2 separate regions of the Homo sapiens genome follow, and region 1 is linked to region 2. The links are contacts of gene promoters, found by promoter capture Hi-C in human tissues and cell types (Jung and others, 2019). All regions are on one chromosome and are shown on one strand. Each heading gives the region's core, a stretch centred on a gene start or on the middle of the fragment in contact. The rest is flanking DNA. Distances are from core to core; before and after follow the strand shown. Region 1 overlaps CCDC178 (coiled-coil domain containing 178). Region 2 holds the start of CCDC178 (coiled-coil domain containing 178).

Evidence for each region. Contacts are between HindIII fragments. The study calls those that stand out against the background at their distance.
Region 1: a contact is called between a fragment that was not itself captured here and the fragment with the promoter of CCDC178 in region 2, in 1 of the 25 tissues and cell types used here (H1 embryonic stem cells).

What each region holds. Positions count from the first base shown.
Region 1 is chr18:33,401,327-33,405,002 of GRCh38, reverse strand. All of the region lies in intron 3 of CCDC178 (coiled-coil domain containing 178), which reads left to right. Among named protein-coding and RNA genes, the nearest start is that of CCDC178, 38 kb to the left of the region's middle. The HindIII fragment of the contact is 6,003 bases long and covers 1-3,676 here.
Region 2 is chr18:33,438,689-33,442,481 of GRCh38, reverse strand. It overlaps CCDC178 (coiled-coil domain containing 178), which reads left to right and starts at 1,761. Exons shown (of 23, transcript NM_001105528.4): 1 at 1,761-1,829; 2 at 2,401-2,520. The HindIII fragment of the contact is 6,939 bases long and covers 1-3,793 here.

The sequences.
Region 1 (3,676 bases), core at 296-2,795, 37 kb after region 2:
TGAAAGAAACCCTGTACCACTAGCATTCTTTCCCCATTCCTCCTCTACCCAGCCTCTGGAACCACAAATCTGTTTTCTTGCTCTATGGATTTGTTTACTCTAGATATTTCATATCAATGATTTTATAAAATAGTTGGCTCTGCATGCCTTTCACCTTTTCAACCAAGATAATGCTGTCAAGGTTCATCCATGTTGTAAAATGTATTCATATTTAATTCCTTTGTATGACTGAATACTATTATTCTTTATGGATATTCCACCTATTGTTTATACATTCATCAGTAGATAGATGTTTTAGTTGTTTCTGTTTTAGGAATATTATGAATAATGCTGCTATGAATATTTGAATACAAGTTTTTATGCAAACATATGTTTTCATTCCTGTTGGGTGTATAGTTAGGAATGGAATTGCTGGGTCATTTTGTAATTTCAGTGTTTAACTTTATTAGTAATTGCCAAATTGCTTTCCACAGAAGCAGCCATAGTTTACATTTCATAATACAAAATACATGGACTCCAGTTTCTCCACATCCCTACCAACAGTTATTAGTTTCTTGGTTTGTTTTTACTTTATTATTATAGCCTCCTAGTGGCTGTGAAGTGACATTTCACTTATTTTTTTTTTTAATTAGTAGACTGTCTTTAGAGTATTTTCAGGTTTATAGAAAACTGGTACATAATACAGAGCTCTCATATACTCACTATCTCCTAACCCACATTCACAATTTCCAATATTATTAACATCTTGCATTAGTGTTGTGTATTTGTTAAAGTTGATAAACCAATATTGATACATTTTTATGAACTAAGGTCCATGACTCATTCTTTTGTGGTACAGATCTCTGGGTTTTGACAAATGCATAATGTTATCTCATGCTTCTCAGATTTCTTTTCACCTTAGGTTTAACAAGAAGTCTAGAGGGGCTGAAGTGAATATTTCCCTCTTTCCATTGGTTAGTCTCTGTTAAGGTAGTTTCCCTTGAGGGGTAGTGGTAAACCAAACCTTCTGGGTATATTTCAAAATGGCAATTTTTACCCTGGCAATAATTCAAAATAACTACTTTTCCCCTTCTTCTAGAAGTCGAAAGGAGTATTCCTCAAATTTCAACTGTGAGAACAAGGTGGAGCTGGAGATAAAAGTAAAAATATACCTGGCCCTCTAATACTGACTCCCCAGAAGTTTTTAACTCTCAAACTAGTCCACACTCAGCCTCCAATAGTTAATCAATTAGATCTTACACTTCTCTACCCATTTTTGGCTCCAGCAACTTCTGCATTAGCCTGACCCTCCAGTTTTTGGGGTGTCAGTTTACATTGTAACCTTAATTCACTGATGGACCTAAGAAAAATTGTTGAGTATTTCCGTTCAGCTTTTTCTTTTAAGAGAAACCGAATGCTGACTTTCAAGATTTTTATGTATCAAAGTGTAACTGTAGTATCCAAACTGATTTTGACAAAAGTCTATTTGCTTTATTCCTCTGTATGAACCATTTGTCCGGTTTTTTTTTTTTTTGGATGTCATACATTTTTGTTGAAAACTGGGCATTTAAAATAATAGAACGTGAGAACCTGTGGTCATCAGATTGTTCTTCTTCTCTAGGGTTTGCTTTCCCTGCTGATTTTTGTAGTTGTTAATTTAGCAACTTTTCTAAATTAGTTCTCTGAAGCCCTCTGTGGCCACTCACTGAAATCTCTATCCAGTTGGCTTAATGGTCAATTAATGGCGGAACAGATATTTCTCTAGATTCCTGGAATCAAATCTCTGTCTTTGCTGAGCATCTTTATGTGCATGTTCAGATACATCTTCAACACTCATCCAAGGACTTGACAGCTCAGCCTTAGCCTTTCCTTCTGGCACATGCAGAGTCTCAAGGTCAACCAGAGGTGAGAGATTAGGGCTTTCATGGGTCTTTTCTGTGTGTGTGCCAAATCCTCAAATGATAAAGGGATTTGGTTATATGGGTGAGAGATGAGACTGAAGTAATTGTCTATTGCACTAGTTCTCAACTAGAATTGTGCATCACAGTAACCTGCAGAAAAATTTAAAAAAATCTACAAGTCTAGGCTCTCCCCTGAAGATTTTGATAGAGTAAGTCTAATAAAGCGTGGACATGTATGTTTACAAATATTTCCTTGAAGCCAGGCATGGCGGTGCAGCAGCTGTAGTCCCAGCTGCTTGGGAGGCTGAGATGGGAGGACTGATTGAGCTTGGGAGTTTGAATGTAGCCTGGGCGACATAATGAGACCCTTCCTCTAACAGTAACAACAACAACAAAGTCCTCAAAATCTGGATACTATTCTGGTTAAGAACCACTGAATAGATAAGTGTAATATGTAAATTCTCATATCTCAGAAATGTAAGATATCTCTAGAAGAGTTGGACTTTGATAGATGCTAATTCCTTTAAATCTCTTCTTTCCGATAATATTAGCCTGACTTTTTCCTGATCATGCTCACAGCTTTAGAAGTGAAGTCTTGCAGGGAATAACCAGGTATTTCTAAAAATGACAGTTCTTTAGGAATGAGGCTTGCAAAAAACTGCAACTCTCTTCTTCCTCCTCCGATATCGTAAATGTGGACCTTTATTTTTCAAGGCTCTGTTGACCTTCAGAGTCAGGGCTGGGACCAAGGAAAGTTAAGAAGCCACAAATGTTTGTGTTCTTACCAAGATTTATCTGTTTTTCTTGAATAGTTGTTCACACAGTTGCTGGAAGCCTTTGCTATATTTCTGGAATTCTGAAAATGTTGATTTTGACAATTTCGCCTTTTTAAATCTTTGTATTTATGGAGAGGTAGATTTTTCAAAGGTCTTTATCATTTTCTCTGATATCTCTTTTTAACTTTTGTCTTTTGTGGGTTTTTGTTTCAAGTTAAGTATTCAGAATTGAAATTTGGGGGACATAGGCTGTGAACATTTGTGTGGCCTTCAATATTTATTTTATATTGTTTTCCACAAATGTACCTCACATTCAACTGTTTATCAGTATTACCACAACATATTAATACCAGATTTTATTTGATTATTATTAAATAGCTAGTTTATTAAATAGAAAATGACCACAATTGCTCTACTTTACATTTTTATTACCAAAGAATATAAATAATTTCCATGTGTTCATTTAATTATTTAATCTTCTCTCATTTGGACCTTCTGATGATGGATTGTTAATAGTTAACGTTTTCAACTTATATAAATAAAACCTGAAGCCTTTATATATTATTTCTTTTTGTGTCATATTTAGTGAAAATAATTGCCCATCTACCTTTGAACTTCTGTCTTGAGTCAAAGAAGATAAAAGTATCATTTTTAATATATTGTTAAATTATTAAATCTAAACGCATGACTAAATGTTATATATCATGTTAATTTTTATAATTTTAATATATTTTGAAAAATTTTAAATTCTGTAGTTCATTAGGAATTTACATTAGAAAATTTGTTTACTGATAGAGTGGTTTTGATGAATACATTCTATTGGAATTTTGTAACTGGAATATTGTATAACAATACAGTTATCCACCAAGGCAGAAACATGAATTAGAGCATGAATTTATTTGAACCAATGTTTTTCAGGGTCTGTTTCATGTGCAACTCTTTGTAGAAACTGACTATAGGCACCTCTCGTTTTATTGCACTTCACTTTATTGCACTTTACAGATCCTGTGTTTTGTTTTG
Region 2 (3,793 bases), core at 512-3,011:
TGCCTGCCTTCCTTACCATAGGGTCTTGTCAATCTTCAAAGGTGACAATAGAGAATATCCCTTTGATAAATCCCTCTGATGCTTCAAACCTCCGACTCCAGGAAGAGGTCAGTCCCTTTTAAGGGTTTACCTAATAAAGGCCAACCCATCCTGGATAATCTCCCTTTTTCAAGTCAATTGTGTCAGGTAACAAACTAATCAGGAAAATGAAATCCACCAAATTTAAAGTCCTAAGGATTATGCAGGTGTGTATACCAAGGGGTAGGGTCATGGGCGTCCATTTTAGAATTCTGCCTGCCACAACAGGGGTTTAGCAATTATCAGTGAGTTCTAATTAAGAGAAACTTGTCAATAATGAGATTTCTAGTAGGTAAAGTTTTATTTTATGAGAAAAAAATCTAGCTATTGTTTTAATATGCACATTTACATATTGTGAACCCTCATGAATACATATTTACTGGCATGCAAATGATTCATTTGGTTTATAATTTAACATTGTATTGAGAACAAGCCAAAGTTTAATAATTAATGGAGGGAGATGGGAAAGTGGAGTGCATTCTTGAATCCATTTTTTAATTACAAAAAGAGCTCTGCTTCTGCATATATTAATTTAAGATTAAGACCTTCCACCAGTTTGTTAGTTATTGCTTCCTTTTTTTCATCTTTGGCTGAAAGGACCACATTCCAGGTACGGACTTGCTGGTTTTCCCCTCTTAGAAAGGATTACTAATTAAATTGCCTCTTAAAGTAATAGACTTTGCTGATTTAACCTTGGCAGGCAATTGCCTGTTCTCAGTGTTGCCTGGAAAAATGATTTCTCTGGATGAGAATGCTAATCTTTATTCTGATTCTGTTTTTTTTTTTTAACCATCTTCAGTTTATAGTCCAGTGTTTGTTTTCATTGAAGAAGACGGTGACAATAGTGTAAGACACGACTGTCCTCTGAAGCCTATTTCAGTTCACAGTGTATATTCACAGATGAAGAAACAAAATGTAGGTAATACATTTTGTGCCACTGATTTATGTATTTATTGATCTGTCGCCCAGGCTGGAGTGCAGTGGCACGATCCCAGTTCACTGCAGCCTCTAACCACTGGGCTCAAGCAATCCTCCTGCCTCGGCCTCCCAAAGTCCTGGGACAGGACACGCCTGGCACAGGGTTGTGCCACCACACCCGGCCTGCCACTTAGTATTTTGTCAGAAGGATCAATGCTTCAAAAATTTGTTTTTGAAAGAAACAGACCCTTAGAGAAATGGCTTGAATTAGTCTTGAATTAGTCATTTTCCCCACTTTCAGACACTAGGAAAAGTTCTTTCTTCCTTAACAGTTTGTTGAGGTTTCTCAATACTGAAGTCACAACCAAACCACATGGGGTTATCGCATGGAGTCCTGGTTGTATCATCCCAAGTGGCAAGAAAGAAAGAGGTCCTGCGGTCCTCCCGAAGGTGGACGAAGTCTGTGATCCCCTCACGTTCTAACCTCACTGCTGTACGAAGGGGCGTTGACTCGTCTCCACTCCTTCCCTCTCCGGTAAAGAGGGAAAGGAGTTGGGTTGGCAAATCGGTTACAAGAGAAAGGGAAAGGCACTGGGAGAAGGCGGAGCGGGGGCGGCCTGGAGCGCTGATCGGGCGCCGAAACGCCGGGAGTCGGGGGCTAAGGGCTCGAGCCAGGAGGCCCCGGAGCAGCAGCCGCCCGCTCCTCACGCCGCCGCCGCCGCCCCCGCGGTTGCCTGGACACGGGATAACCGACTTGGGGCCTCGACCGCAGCAGAGCCGGAGGGGTGGGCAGGCGCGGGTCCGGGAGACGCGCGGGGAAACGCGCGGAGCCGGTGAGTCGGGGGCGCTTGTGCCTCGGCGCGGGCGCTTGTGCCTCGGCGCGGGGCGCTGCCGGGCGGCGCCCACTCCCCCTGGCCGCCCGCCTGCGCGACTCCCGCGGGAGAACCAAATGCAATTCCCTGGCCACCCTGAGGGAGTTAGAGTCGACTAGTTCTTCACCCCTTCCAGAGGCGGTGGGGAGTCCTTGCCCCGCGCGTTTGAAAACAATTCCCCAAATCCCCAGTCCCATAATTCCCCAGTCCCCCAGTCGTTTTGTCCCCCTGTTCTCCGTCCTCCAGTTTCCCAGTCCTCCAACCCCTGTCCCCAGTCCCCCAGTCCCCCAGTCCCCCAGTCCCCCAGTCCCCCAGTCCCCCAGTCCCCACTGCCGGGGGAAGGGAAGCAGAGTCTCCCTCCGCTGGCCGCCTAGAGGAACTTCGTCTTGTCTGTAACTGCGTCTCTAGCGTCTTATTCCTTTAAAATAATTATTTCAACTTTTATTTTGCTTATAAGGCCGCCTTGTGGTGGCTCATGTATTATTCCTTTGAACTGTTATTGATTTCTTTTCTTGATATTTAATTTTTTAAGTGTCTGCTCAATCAAGTCAAATACTGAACAACTTCCTGGCGGAGAGGCTGAGAATTTTATACTTGCTTGCTCGAAAGCACCCCAAATAAGATGATCCACGCCAACACCTCCCCTTTACAGGTGAGAAAAGTGATATTCAGAGCTGATTTGTGATTTGACAAAAGTCAGATCCAGCAATCTTCAAACTCAGGAATATAAGAATCTCCCGATTGCCAATTCAAAGCATTTTCTATTATTGTTTTCTTGACATTCATCCACTGCTCAATAAATATTTGTGAATTGACTTGGTAGCTTATCACTCCTATTTATCATTGGATAATCTGTTGTGTATTGATTGCTCTGGGCATCTTGACCCAAATACAGCATTCTTGACATCTCCCTCCTACCCTCAAAATATTGTTTCTTGGTCCTGCTGTAGTAATAGGTTTTAGAACACCACTTACCAAGTTTAAGAACTCAGAGACATGACTAGTTGTAAGACAAATCCAAGAATCCAGAGGATTTTCAGCTATTTATGTTCAATTGTTATTTAGACATTCGTACAGAAACTAGTGTATTTCTATCTTGAATATATAATACTTCTTACTTTACTGTTGCAGTCATAAAGTTTTATTATAAACTATATCTGTCTAATTTCCAGAACTATCGAAAATATGAGTTTGATTGTTAGTCTACCCACTATCCCTGGATGGGTTGGGATTGCTGCCAGAGCTTTTATCCACAACCCAGACTTCTCTCTCCTGCTCCCACCTCAGATTCAACACAACCTTAGACTCAACTAATTTGTTACCACATCCTCAGAATTTTTCTTCCTGTTCTATATTCCATAGCAGTGAACGGGATAATTGCATATATTCTTCTTTCTTTTATCTTTATAATATGGACTTCATTCTCACACTGGCTTATTCCACCAGTCTAGAACCATGATTTCCAAGAGCACTGGACTCATAAATTCCCAAACTTGCACCTATAAAGAAAATCTAGAAACACTCGATGAATTCTTCTTGACCTCAGTTGGTTCAATTTGCCTGTCCCAAGAGCATTTATGTTGGGGATAGGGTTACTACGATTGACAGCAATGTCAGACTATGTGGATGGAGTGGGAAAACAATTACACACAAAACAGGAGCCCTCTAGGAAAGACAATTTCTGGGGGAAAATCCATATTTGTCTACTCAGTTTATCTAGGCTTATGGGACTGAAGATTAATGAGGTTAATGAGAATATTGGCTGCTAAAATGCTAGATGGCAGATTACAGACAACATGGAAAGGAAGATGATGTATGGTGAATGAGCAGGGAAAAGCAGAAAGATTAAGCAACTGGAATATTTAAAGTAGACGAAGAATTTGTATTGAGGTAATGATATAGGGAGAGAATTGGACTGATTATTT